Linked DNA regions of Homo sapiens: all the other regions are linked to region 2. The links are contacts of gene promoters, found by promoter capture Hi-C in blood cells and fetal thymus (Javierre and others, 2016). All regions are on one chromosome and are shown on one strand. The core of a region is centred on a gene start or on the middle of the fragment in contact, and the rest is flanking DNA. Distances in the headings are between cores, read along the strand shown. Region 1 overlaps VEZT (vezatin, adherens junctions transmembrane protein). Region 2 holds the start of CDK17 (cyclin dependent kinase 17). Region 3 holds the start of NR2C1 (nuclear receptor subfamily 2 group C member 1).

What was found. Contacts are between HindIII fragments. The CHiCAGO score rates a contact against its expected background, and 5 or more counts as called.
Region 1: a fragment that was not itself captured here is called in contact with the fragment with the promoter of CDK17 in region 2 in 1 of 17 cell types (fetal thymus); the score reaches 5.4 in fetal thymus.
Region 3: a fragment that was not itself captured here is called in contact with the fragment with the promoter of CDK17 in region 2 in 1 of 17 cell types (fetal thymus); the score reaches 8.1 in fetal thymus.

The regions. Positions count from the first base shown.
Region 1 is chr12:95,219,587-95,224,531 of GRCh38, forward strand. The region is part of intron 1 of VEZT (vezatin, adherens junctions transmembrane protein); the gene reads left to right. Among named protein-coding and RNA genes, the nearest start is that of VEZT, 4.3 kb to the left of the region's middle. The HindIII fragment of the contact is 875 bases long and covers 2,680-3,554 here.
Region 2 is chr12:96,398,792-96,403,318 of GRCh38, forward strand. It overlaps CDK17 (cyclin dependent kinase 17), which reads right to left and starts at 1,648. Exons shown (of 17, transcript NM_002595.5): 1 at 1,195-1,648. RefSeq lists silencers at 1,052-1,211, 1,392-1,571, 1,662-1,991 and an enhancer at 2,412-2,631. The HindIII fragment of the contact is 3,343 bases long and covers 1-3,035 here.
Region 3 is chr12:95,070,852-95,075,186 of GRCh38, forward strand. It overlaps NR2C1 (nuclear receptor subfamily 2 group C member 1), which reads right to left and starts at 2,767. Exons shown (of 14, transcript NM_003297.4): 1 at 2,529-2,767. RefSeq lists a silencer at 2,185-2,464 and enhancers at 2,354-2,854, 2,545-2,864. The HindIII fragment of the contact is 306 bases long and covers 1,888-2,193 here.

The sequences.
Region 1 (4,945 bases), core at 1,867-4,366, 1.2 Mb before region 2:
CTTTTTTTAAAAAAATACCATTGTAATCAACAGTGATATAAGCCTATTTTTAACTACAACTCTGATTTTCCTCAGAATAATTTTTAGAAGTAGAACTAGTGGGTGAAAGAATATGAACATTTAAGACTTACGCAGAAAGGTTATACCAATTCCGGTTTCCATTAAGAATAAGAGAGTATTGGTTTCACCAAATCCTCAACAACAGCCTTAACAGTTTCCTTTAATCTTTGCTAATTTGATAGGCAAAAATAACATTCCATTGTTTTAATTTACATTTTATGCATTTATACATTTATTAGCTATTTTTATTTCTTTGAACATTTCTCTTCATATTTGTTGCTCATTTTCTTATTAGATGCTAGCTTTAAAAAAATTGACTTGCGTGAGTTCTTCATATATTACTAAGCCTTTGTCATACTTGCAGAAAAATTTCCAGTTTGCTGTTTGTTTGCTCTTTGATATACACAATTTTTATTGCAGTATAATTTACATAAGGACAGGGCACAGATCACAAGTGTGTGGATGGTTATATTTTCACATGTTGAGCACACCCATGTAACCAGCACCCAGATCAAGAAACGGGACAGATGGGGCATGGTGGCTCACACCTGTAATCTCAGCACTTTGGGAGGCTGAGGCAGATGGATCCCTTGAACCCAGGAGTTTGAGATTAGCCTGGACAACATGGTGAAACCCTATCTCTACAAAAAAGACAAAAATTATTTGGGCGTGGTGGCACATGCCTATAGTCCCAGCTACTCGGGAGGCTGAGGTGGGAGAATCACTTGAGCCTGGGTAGGTCAAGGCTGCAGTGAGCCATGATCGCACCGCTGTACTCCAGCCTGGATGACAGAGCCAGACTCTGCCCCAAAAAAATAAAAAATGAAAAAAGAAACAACATCACCAGCACACCAGAAGCTCCCTCCTGGTCCTTTCCATCACTACTCCCTACCCCAAAATGATCACTATTTAAACATAATAACCTAGATTAATTTTGTCTATTTTTATTGTTTAGACACTGTGCATTTCCATTTATATACTCTCTTATTTCTGACTTTTTTTTTTCCTCTCTGGCTTTATTTGTGAGATTCGTCCATATTGTTAACATGAGAATTTTTATTTTGGCATAGTATTCCATGTGAATATATGATCATTTTTAAATTCATTCTTCTATTAATGGTCATTGAGTAGTTCCCAGGTTTAAACTAGTGCTACTGTGAACCTTTTTGTATGTGTTTGGTTAAACATATTTCTGGTGGATATATATGTAGGAATGGAATTGCTGGGTCATAGCAAATACCTAGATATTTCTGTAGATATTGCCAAACTTTATTCCAAAGTGGTTGTACCAGTTTATTCTCCAGCCAGGAATGTATGAGAGGTCCCATTGCCCCACATCCTCATCAACCCTTGCTAATTTTAGTGTTTTTCTTTTTATGATTCTAGGGGCTATGTCCTGGTATCTCCTTGTGGTTTTAATTTGTATTTTCTTGATAAAGATGTTAAGATTTTTAATGTGTTTATTAGCCAATTGTATATCCATTTTGTGAAGCCACGTCAAATTTCTTGCATATTTTTCTATTGGGTTGTTTCTTTTTCTTGCTGATTTGAAGGAATTATTTACATACACTGGATACAAGTCCTTTGTTAGAGATGCAGTTGGCCCTCCTTAGCTGAGAGTTCCACATCTGCAGATTGGACCAACCGTGGCTCACGCCTATAATCCTAGCACTTTGGAAAGCTAAGCCAGGCAGATCACTTGAGGCTAGGAGTTTGAGACCAGCCTGGCCAACATGGCGAAACCCAGTCTCTACTAAAAAATACAAAAACTAGCTGGGCATGGTGGCATGCACCTGTAGTCCCAGCTACTCCAGAGGCTGAGGCATGAGAATCGCTTGAACCCAGGAGGCGGAGGTTGCTCTGGGTGACAGAGTAAGATTCCATCTCAAAAAAAAAAAATAAAGGAAATACTCTGGCCCAGTGAGGTGGCTCATGCCTGTAATCCCAGCACTTTGGGAGGCTAAGGTAGGAATATTGCTTGAAGCCAGGAGTTTAAGACCAGCCTGGTCAACATTAACAAAACCCTGCATATTAAAAAAAAAAAAGAAAAAAATTAACCAGGTGTGGTGATGCATGTCTGTAATGCCAGCTACTCCACAGCCTGAGGCAGAAGATTGCTTGAGCCCAGGAATTTGAGGCTGCAGTGAGCTACAATTCCAGCCTGGGTGACAGAGTGAGACCATATCTCTAAATAAATAAATAAATACTCAAAAATATTCAAAAAATAATACAAATAAAAAAACTATACAGGATAACAACTATTTACATAGTGTTCACATTGTATTAGGTATTACAAATAATCTAGAGATGATTTAAAATATGTGGGAGACTGTGTGTATGTTATATGCAAATACTATGCCATTTTATATAAGGGACTTGAGCATCCATGGACTGGGTATTTGCCCTAGTCCTGTGACCAATTCCCCATGAATAAAGAGACAACTGTATATACCTCATATATCTTACCTTGGGCTATATGTGGCCTCTGCACTCTTTTAATCGTGTCTTTCAATGAACAGAAGCTCCTTATTATAATCCAATTAAACCTTATTCTTTTGTGATTAGTGCTGTTAAAAAAATATTTGCCTACTCTAAGGTCACAAAGATATTTTCTTTAAAAGCTTTATTTGACATTTTCCCATTTAGATCTGTCATCCATCTGGTACTGATTTTTGTATGGTAACAAGTGAAGATCAACATTTTTTTTTCCCCGTATGGATGTCCAGTTGACCTGGCACCATTTACTGAACAGATCATTTTTTCCCCACTGAACTGTAGTGTTGCCTTTGTCATAAATCAGGGAATCTTTTATGTGTAGATCTCTTTCTGGACACTGTCTTCTTTGCCATTGATCATTTTGTCTATTCGTGTGTTAATACCACATTATTTTAATTACTATAATTTAAAAAATAGGTTTTAATATCTGATAGCATAAGACCCTTCAGCTGTATTTTTCTTCAGGATTGCCTTTGGCTATTCTTGGCCCATTATATTTCCATATAAATTTTAGAATCAGCCTGTCAGTTTTTGTAAAAAAATAAAAAATAAAAATAAAAAAACCCTACTGAGACTTTGATTGAAATTGCTTTGAAGCTATAAATTAATCTGGGGAAACTTAACATCTTTACAATCAATATTGAATCTTCCAATCCGTGAACATTTATTGCTTGCCTTCTAAATGAATCAAGCAACTTCTCATCTCGTTCTGTGCTCTAGGACTGATTTTACAAAATGAGAATTATCTGTTTCTTCAGAGTATAGCTAAATTGGCCTTTCCTGGGGAAAAGAGACTGAATGTTGTCTATCAGCTCAATTTCTTTTATGGTTATTGCTCAGGTACAATTTTCTATTTTGATAACTTTTTTATTCTGAAAGGCAGTGTAATATAGTTAAAGATATGGGCTCTGGAGCTGGATAACCTAAGAAATCCTAGGTCAGCTATTTATTAGTTATATTAGTTAATGTGACTTTGAGCAGGTTACTTAACTTGTCTAAGCTTCAGTTTTCTCCATATTAAATAAAAATAACAGTAACTATCTCGTAAGGTAGTTATGAGTACTAAATGATTTAATATAAGTGAATTACTTAGATGAGTACCTGACACATTGTAAACACTCAGTAAATGTTACCTTTTATTAAATTTTTCCAACAAATTGCTTTTTATCTAGGTTTTCAAAATTATTGATATATTCTTAGTAGTCTCTTTAGTTTCATTTATAGCACAAATTAGATCTGATTGTTGTTATGTTTTTCTTTTTGTTTTGCATAGATGTGCTGGAGTTTCAACTTACCAGATAGACTTTTCTTTTTTTTGAGACAGAGTTCCACTCTGTTAGCCTTGTCGCCCAGGCTGGAGTGCAATGGCAGGATCTTGGCTTGCTGCAACCTCTGCCTCCTGGGTTCAAGCAATTCTCCTGCCTCAGCCTCCCGAGTAGCTGGGATTACAGGCACCCATCACCATGCCCAGCTAATTTTTGTATTTCTAGTAGAGATGGGGTTTCACCATGTTGGCCAGGCTGGTCTTGAACTCCTGACCTCGGGTGATCCACCCACCTCGGCCTACCAAAGTGCTGGGATTACAGATGTGAGCCACCGTGCCTGGCCTCAGGTAGACTTTTCAAAAAACTAGTTGGTTTTGTTTGGTCAGTTCTATTGAATTTGTTTGTGGTTTTAAATTTTTTTAAAATTTCTACTTTTATCTATTTCCATTCATCTATTTGTGTTTATTTTGCTATTTTTGTTCTGTTTTTTTTAGCTTCTTGAGTTAAAAACCTAAATGCCCAAAATAACTTGTAAGGCTATAAATTTCCCTGAGTATTGCTTCAGTTGTATCACGAAAGTTTTGAAATGTAGTTTGTCTCATGGTTGTATAAGTTCCATTTTTATTTCTTATTTAATACCCAAGTATATAGTTGAGGGATTGATGTTATCATTGGTGATTATTTTTCTCCCTGTGTCCCTCAGACCCATAATTCCACCCTGATCATTATGGACTGCATCACTGCATTCCCTTGTCCTCTGGGTTCCATTTAGGTTCGGCCAGTGGGAAGGACCTGCAGATCAGAGGATGGAGGAAAGAGCGCCAGAGAGGTTTGGGTGTTTCTTGTCTGAATTCTTTCCCTCTACGGCTACTATTTGTTAGTGATTGCATTCCTGTACCTAAAGCCACAACTTTTTTTTTTTTTTTGACAGGGTCTTGCACTGTTGCCTAGGCTGGAATGCAGTGTTAACCATCATAACTCACTGCAGCCTCCAACTCCTGGCTCAGGTGATCCTACCACTTCAGCCTCTCAAGTAGCTGGGACTACAGGCAGGTGCCACCATGTCCAGCTAACCTGTAACTCTTATCACGGGATTCTTCTTGGGAAAGGCTAGGAGCAGCCAT
Region 2 (4,527 bases), core at 398-2,897:
GAAAGTGACCTGTTAGGACCTGATGTCAATTTGACGAAGAGGTGATAGAACATGACCAACGAGGTGTCTTTGGTGGACATATTCATGTAAAGGAGGCGAGAGCCACAGATTTCAGCTAAACGCTTTTTGCCACTTTTGCAAAAGAAAAGCTAATTGTTAACGGCCATGTGACATTATAGATCCCAGAAAAGGAAAGGGTGGGAGGAAGAGAGAGAAGTTCAAGGCAGTTCAGGGTCAGAACAAGCTCAGACATCCTGTCATTAACAAATGTTCCCCAAGCTGAAAGCAAAATACTGCTTACCCGAAAAGGAGTGGGTGAAAAGTAGGGGGAGAACGAGGGAAAAACCACAGGAGAGTCAATGTGGCAGTGTGGGGGTGACAGGAGGGAGGGAATCTGGAGCTATCCAGCTGAGTTGGGGAGCAAAAGCATCGGGCATAGCATCGGGCACAAAAATGCTGAGAAAAGCAACTGCGACGGAGACAGCACTAGGCACCCTCCTCCCCCCATTTTCCCCTCCCCATCGGTTTGCTGGGTTTCCCACCTTCCCTCTACCTCCGCTCTTGACCAACACTCCGGGGTGTGACCCGCCAGCAGGAGGCTGCCCTGATCTTTGTCTCTACCCGCTCCCACGCGCGGGCTCCTCCTCCTCCTCCGCGCTCCCCACCCGCGCACAGCGCCAGCGTCTCCAAGGAGCTGCAGGCGCCGCGACCGCCGCCTCCTCGCCCACCTCCCGCGGACCCGCGCCCCTTCCTTCCCCTCCCGGGCAGCGTCGCCTGCGCCTCCAGCTCCACCCCCGCCGAGGGGACCTTTGTGTCTCGGGGGACTTTCTGCCTCTTTCCCCTCCTCCGCCTCGCGAGGAGACCGGCCTCCCCCGCAGACCAAAGCGGCAGCGAGCACCGGAGGCGGCGGCGTCTATATCTGTCGGCGCCTCCTGGGAAGCAGCTCGCAGACACTCACACCCCACCCGAGCCCCGGAAATCCCCGGGCGACCCAAGGTCCTCGCTGGACCGGAGAGGTGACAGGCGCACGCTAGCCCCCCGCGCCGCGCCTCCTCGCTCAACTTCCCGACCGGGCCTGAGCCACCCGCGCCCCCAGTAGCCCCCGCCCCCGCCTCTGTCCCACGCAGCCTCCCGGCCCCGCGGCCGACCCGACACCAGGGGAAAGCGCGGCGCGGACGCCAGCCGCCAACTCACCAGCAAGAGCGGGGACCGCGGGTCCCGAGGCGAGGCGAAGAGAGGCGCGGGGGGAAGCTGCTCCGCGGACGCCCGCGGCGACCGGATGCAAGTCCGGGTCTCAGCGGCCGGCAGACGTGAGGCGCTTCCGAGCGCAGGCCTCCGCCGCCACAGCCGCCTTCCGGCTCTCGCCGCGGGTCCGGAGCCTCGGGAGGGGCCGCGGGTGTCTCACGCGTTGCCAAGTCCCTCGGTCAACATGGCTCCCGCGCCGACGAGCCGCGCGGACGGCCCACTAATCCCCTCGGAGCAGCCGGGCGCGAGCGCGGCGGGCGCCGACGGCGGGCTGAGACTGTCTGGCCGGGCGCTGGCTCCTTCTCCGCGGCTCTGCGGCGGCCCGCGGGGAGCTCAGGAGACTGCGGGCGGCCGCGTTCGCTCCTTGCGTGTGCGTCGCTTTCACACTCGGCGGCTGCGGATTGACGCCTCCGCCTGTTCCCCGGAGGAGAGCGAGTGCAAGAGAAAAAACACTTTTATTGAAACGATCCAACCAGCGGCGGCGGAGAAAAGCGACCGGCCGCGGGAGCTTACCCCACCCCCGCCTGAGCGGCTCGCCGGGGGCAGCGCGACCCCTGCCGGCGGCGGCGGAGGCGGGGGCGGGGCCGGCGGCCGGGGGCGGGGCCTGCAGGGCGGGGCGGGTGTCCCCGGGAAACTGCCCGCTCCGAAATGCGGGCGTCGGGGGAGCGGCGGAGGGGGCCAGGGGACCCCACCGGAATGAGTGCCTGTCCGCAGCGACTGGGGGAGAAATTATGTGAATAATTCAGCCCCTCCAACATCCCCCTGCCCCTCAACTTCCCGCTACCAAACCAAAACTCGTGCTTCAGTTATACAAGTAATTACTGTACAAGGTGTCCATGCCACAGTTCTCCACTGACTTTCTAGAGAGTCCATGTCAAAGGACCCACACTGAAAGATGTTGATGGCTGCAACTTTTCTCCTTTGTTGTGTGTGGGTACGTGGGTACTAGTGCCGCAGTCTCTCACACACACGGCATCTATTCATTTAAACTACAGTACAGTGTTTTGTATATATTATCATGTGCCCGGCAATATGCTGAGTCCTCTAAGGACGGAGAGTCTAGCTGGGATGAAAGATGATCAATAACTATCATAAAAATCTGAACGTTATGAGCGGAGAAATACAAGGTGCTATGAAAACAGAAAGGACTACTGTTGCACGGGTTAGGTTTTGTTTTCTTGGGGGAGGCGGGCCGCGAGAGGTTGGCCCAGTTTCTGCAACTGTTTTTACTTTCTCCTTTCCCAGAGGCTAAAAGCTAGTTCAGGAATGAACAGCAGAGTGGCAGTGAAGACAAACTAAAGTAATACTGACCCACTTTTTTCCACTAATAAGGATAAAAGCATAAAGTTAAAACAAACTTAAACCCCTAGAGGGAGATAATGAGAGGATTGAAAGAAGAGAGTAGGGACCGGATGTAGACAACATAAACAAGAAAAAAAAACCCACATAAAAGTCCTGTGAAGTGAGATAAATTTTTTTTCCCATGTTAACACCCGGAAGTAGAAGCTGCTTTGAAGTTTCAAATCACATTATGTGCTAAGAACTTCGGGGAATTATCTTTTTGGATTTAGGGATGAATCCTTTCCCCCTTAAAAATGCTGCATGCTGACATCTTTCTCTTATTTTGTTTGGCAAAGTTAAATGCATCTACAGTTATATCCAACGATCGTACGTGTCAATCAGGCTTTTCCCATGCCTCTAAAATTACCAGGACCCGTAAATTAGCAACAATTATGCTCTACGCGTATTTAACACTTGTTTACCAACCAAGAATGCAAATATACATAACAAGCTTTCCGTTAGAACAAGTGCGCTTTGTTTAAAAGCACTGTTAATGAGGCTTTTTAGATTTGTCCAAGTCAAACTTGGAACTTTATAATATAGCAAGATGTAGCATCATTTTCAGAGTTCTTTTTAAGTTAAAGAGAAACACTGATATTTATACAAGGCCTATTTATATGAAAGGATTTTCATATACTTGCCTCATCTAAATTAGTACTTTAGTAAATATCAAAAAATCACCAAAAAAGGGAGTCTATGAAATGGCATTCTGAGTTTCAGCATTAATACTTATACCTTCATATCATTAGATTAACATTACTCCATGAGAAATAAAAAGATTATTCTGTCTCATCCAAAGCACCCTCTCCTCTTTCTACATCTTTCATTAGCATAACAAAGAATTCGTAATTGGGAGGCTGAGGTGGGAGGATCCATTAAGCCTGGGAGGCGGAGTTTGCGGTGAGCTGAGATTCTGCCACTGCACGCCAACCTGGGTGACAGAGTGAGACACCGTCTCAAAAAGAAAAAAAAAAGACGAATTCATAATGAAAACTTAGGTGATTATTTGATTGATTGGTTTGTTATTTCTTTTTTTTTTTTAAGACAGAATTTTGCTCTTGTTGCCCAGGCTGGAGTGCAGTTGCGTGGTCTCAGCTGACTACAACATCCGCCTCCCAGGTTCAAGCGATTCTCCTGCCTCAGCCTCCCAAGTAGCTGGGATTACAGGCATCCGCCACCACGCCCGGCTAATTTTTTGCATTTTTAGTACAGACAGGGTTTCACCCTGTTGGCCAGGCTGGTCTCAAACTCCTGACCTCAGATGATTCACCCTCCTCGGCCTCCCAAAATGCTGGGATTACAGGCGTGAGCCACCGTGCCTGGAGGATTTGTTCTTTCAATGAAAAAAAAAATTACAGATTGCACAATATTTATTTCATTACTTTTCATATTTATTTATTTATTTATTTATTTAAATGAGATGGAGTCTCACTATGCCGACAGCCCAGGCTGGTATTAACTCCTGACATCAAGCAATCCTCCAACCTCGGCCTCCCAAAGTGCTGAGACTACAAACAGGAGCCACCACCCCTGGCCTATTTATTTATCTGTTTATTTATTTATTTTTAGAGGGAGTCTTGCTCTGTCACCCAGGCTGGAGTGCAGTGGCATCATCTCAACTCACTGCAATCTCCATCTCCTGGGTTCAAGCAATTCTCCTGCCTCAGCCTCTTGAATAGCTGAGATTACAGGTGCCCATCACCACGCCCGGCTAATTTTTGTATTTTTAGTAGAGGCGGGGTTTGGACATGTTGGCCAGGCTGGTCTCGAACTCATGAGCTCTAGTGATCCAAAGTGCTGGGTGAGCCACAGCACCCAGCCCCATGGCCTATTTAATTACTTTTCTAAACCGATTTAAAATTTGGCCAGGCGCGGTAGCTCACACCGGTAATCCCAGCACTTTGGGAGATCGAGGCAGGTGGATCACTTGAGCTCATGAGT
Region 3 (4,335 bases), core at 791-3,290, 1.3 Mb before region 2:
ATTCCCCCAACATATTCCTACTTTCTCCCTCATTTAAATTCCACCTGACTTTTAAGATTTGGTTCAAGCCAGGGGCGATGGCTCACGCCTGTAATCCCAGCACTTTGGGAGGCCAAGGCACGTGGATCACCTGAGGTCAAGAGTCCAAGACCAGCCTGGCCAACATGGTGAAACCCCATCTCTACGAAAAATACAAAAATTTAGCCGGGTGTGGTGGACGGCGCCTGTGATCCCAGCTATGCAGGAGGCTGAGGCAAGAGAATCGCTTGAACCTGGGAGGTGGAGGCTGCAGTGAGCCGAGATCGTGCCATTGCACTCCAGCTTGGGAAACAAGGGCAAAACTCCGTCTCAAAAAAAAAAAAAAAAAATTTTGATTCAAATAGTTTTTTACCCAGTCTTTCTTGAAGGGTCGAACAATTATTTTGTAGACTAAGGTTGTTAGCTAGGATTCAGAAATAGATTTCTGTTAACTCCTAATACTGTCTGTAAAATTTTATCTAAAGGTGCATTTTTCTAGACAAGTTCATAAAAGACTTCAAGAGGCTGTAGATGGTCTTGTCACTGAAAAACGGCAACGAATTATATTTATACTATTATTTATTGTATGCTGTTTTGTTTTTATTCCCCAAGAGTAGGGATTATACATTGTGTGGCAGACACACAGACGGTGTGTGTTTGGGGATGTTTGCTCCCTCAAAATCCTTCCTTAAGATGCGGTGCCTGTAATTCCAGCTACTCAACAGGCTGAGGCAGGAGGATAGCTTGAGGCCAGAGATCTGTCTGGATAACAAAATGAGGCCCCCCACCATTTCTATAAAACAAAACAAAAAAACCTTTCCTAGAAGAAACTAACATGCCCCTTGAAAAACTAAGATTAGCAACATTTCATAAAACCCACTTTTTTTTTTTTTTTTGAGACGGAGTTTCGCTCTTCTTGCCCAGGCTGGAGTGCAATGGCGCGATCTCAGCTCACTGCAACCTCCGCCTCCCGGGTTCAAGCAATTCTCCTGCCTCGGCCTCCGGAGTTGCTGGGATTACAGGTGTGCGCCACCACGCCCGACTAATTTTGTATTTTTAGTAGAAACGGGGTTTCTCCATGTTGGTCAGGCTGGTCTCGAACTCCCGACTTCAGATGATCCGCCCACCTCAGCCTCCCAAAGTGCTGGGATTACAGGTGTGAGCCACCGCGCCCAGCCGCGACCCACTTTTAATGATAGAAATACACATCGCTTTTTCAGATATACTAACTGGACTTAAAGCAAAGTTTAAAAACAATCATCGGCCGGGCGCGGTGGCTCACGCCTGTAATCCCAGTACTTTGGGAGGCCGAGGCGGGTGGATCAGAGGCGGGTACATCACGAGGTCAGAGTATCAAGACCATCCTGGCCAACATAGTGAAACCCCACCTCTACTAAAAATACAAAAAACAAAAACAAAAACAAAAACAAAAAAACTAGCTGGGTGTGGTGGCTCGTGTCTGTAATCCCAGCTACTCGGGAGGCTGAGACAGGAGAATCGCTTGAACCTGGAGGCGGAGGTTGCAGTGAGCCGAGATCGCGCCACCGCACTCCAGCTTGGCGACAGTGAGACTCCCTCTCCCTCTCAAAAAAAAAAAAAAAAAAAGAAAAAAAAATCGAGTATCACCAACCACACAGCAGAAATGGTTCAAAAAAGCTCAAAATCGAAGGTCCATTTACAAATTCTAGCGGTACTAAACCCTAAAGGCCGTAATTTTAGGTCTTTCTGCTTTTGCTTTCCGGTTACTTTTTTAAAGGCTGACCTACTTACTGAAGATTATGGGACAACCTGGCAACATTCGTACTGCACAAAAATGGTATCTGCCCGAGTTGGAAGAATTATTTCTTAACAAAAGAGCTATCTATCGGAAGCTTGGACATGCCCCCTGCAGTGAGAACCCTGGGGCCGTTCCATTTCTTCTGAAAAGATCCAGGCCCACAGGCAGCGACGACCCTGGCCAGATTTGCCGTGAGAGAAAAGTGAAAGTGGGGGGAGTCATTCTGTCCGTCCCGTGAAAGCACGGGAGTTAGTGACGGGATGCAGGCCGGGACTTGCGGCCACTAGCCGAGGGTCGGCCTCTCCCACGTCTCACTCGTGCCGGCGTTAGCCGTGCGCCCTGGAAGCCCCGGCGCTGCGCGCGGCTCTCCCGGGCGGGGAAAGCTGCAGCGCCGCGGAAGCTTTCCCTGCAGGTTAAAGGTCAGAGGCGCTGCGGTAAGCGCAGCTGGAAAGGGGGTTGTGTGCTCCAAGCCGCTCGCCGTCCGGCCCCGCGTCCCGCCGCCCCTGTCGCCCCCGCCTCTCCCGGGGCCCCGCGCATTTGGCGCCGCAGCTCCGCGCTCCCAGCCGAAGTCGAGCAGCCCCAAGCGGCGCTCCCAAACTGAACGGCTCCGCTGGCCGCAGGACGCCGGCCGGGGGATGCGCTGGGACCGCGTCCGTTGGCGGTTGGGGTGAAGGGCACCCCCTGGCCCCCGCCCCCGACGCGGTCGCTGGTGTCCCCACCCAGCGTTTCTTACCGGCGCTTTTGCGCCCTGCTGACTCCGGCGTCGGGCGCCGACGCGACAGTCCCGCGGCTGCCACTCGTGGATTGGGGGGCGCTCCGGGAAGAGAGGTTGAAGAAAGCCGACGGGATGTGGGATCGAGATTCACGGCGGAGAGAGCTTTCTGTGTTTGGGTATTTCTGGGGGGTCAGAGTTCGTGACCTCTTTCTCGGCTCGGCGGCGCGCTATCCCGCCAGCGCCTGCGCATTAGCAACGGGGAGAAGCGGCGAGAGGAGGTCGTGACGTTCCCAGGGTGGGGTGGAGGGATCGGAGGGCCGAGCAGCGGCTCTGTGAGTCCACTGCCCCCTTTTGGCTTGGAGGCAGAGTGCCCCGCCAGAGCTACGCGTTCCCAGCCAGGTAATTTTTGAAGCCACGTGCAAAGGTTTAAGCATCGTTTGCCAAAGGTGGGCATTAGGGGAGGTTTTGAGTCAACGTTTTAGATTTGAGTAATAAATAACCCTCTGGGTCTTAGGCATATCTGTTTCTAATTTCTGGAAAACTGGGCTCTGGGGTAGAGTCCAATCATATTTAAACTTTTTTTTTTTTGTATTACACTTTAAGTTCTAGAGTACATGTACACAACGTGCAGGTTCGTTACATATGTATACATGTGCCATGTTGGTGTGCTGCACCCATTAACTCGTCATTTACATTAGTAAGCTTTATATATAATGACAAGCTGAGGCCGACTCATGCAAATGGTAAGGCAAAGTTTCACTTATAAACTGTTGTGAGTAAAGAGACATAATGGCTAAACAGGGCAAGAATATAATCACTAGAGACTGGGCACGGTAGCTCACGCCTGTAATCCCAGCAAGTTGGGAGGCCGAGGCGGACGGATCACTTGAGCCCGGTTGTTTGAGGCCAGCCTGGCCAACATGGCGAAAACCCGTCTCTACAAAAAAATTAGCCAGTCCTGGTGGCGCGTGCCTGTCGTCCCAATTACTTGGAGGCTGAGGTGGGAGGATCACCTGAGTCAAGACGGCAGTGAGCCAAGATCACACCACCGCACTCCAGCCTGGGTGACACAATGAGTCTTTCTCTCTCTCTCTATATATACACACACACATATATATGTATATTCCACATCCTCTCTATAATATATATATTATTATATATTGAGGATTATCCTCAATGGCCGTTTTTTGTCTGTTTTGCTCAGTGATGTATTACCAAGCACATAGGACAATGCCTGCTATTCAATAATGATGTATGAAATGAAAGCCAGGCAAGTGGCTGCTGGGAGGCCAAGGAAAGATCACTTGGGGCCAGCAGTTGGAGACCGGCTTGGGCAAGATAACAAAACCCTGCCTCCACAAAAAAAATTTTTCAAATTGTGAAATGAAGAGACATTGGTGGAACATCGCATTCTGACAGTGGCCACCTGTAGTGGCAAGGTGTGGCAGGAATAACTGCCCTGTGTGCAAAGTACTCTGCGCTTTAGATTTTGAAGCATTCTTGAAATTTCTAGTTTTTTTTTAAATCTCCTTTGTTTTGTCATGAAATTTCTATTTTATCTAGCTTAGGTCGGCACTGTAGGAAAGCAGCCACAAACTCAGGGCAGAAATCCAAGGAAGGAAAAACAAACGTTTGCTGGGAATGAGAACATCTCTGTTATTTCTCTCTGGAACTAGGCAGACGGACAGAGATCAAGGCATGAAACAATCCCTAACAAGTAAAAATATGCTTTATCCCTCATTAAAAATCCACCTCTGCTGAGCACAGTGGCTTCTGCCCCCAGAGCCTTGGGAGGCTGAGGTAGGAGGCTTGCTTGATGCCAGGA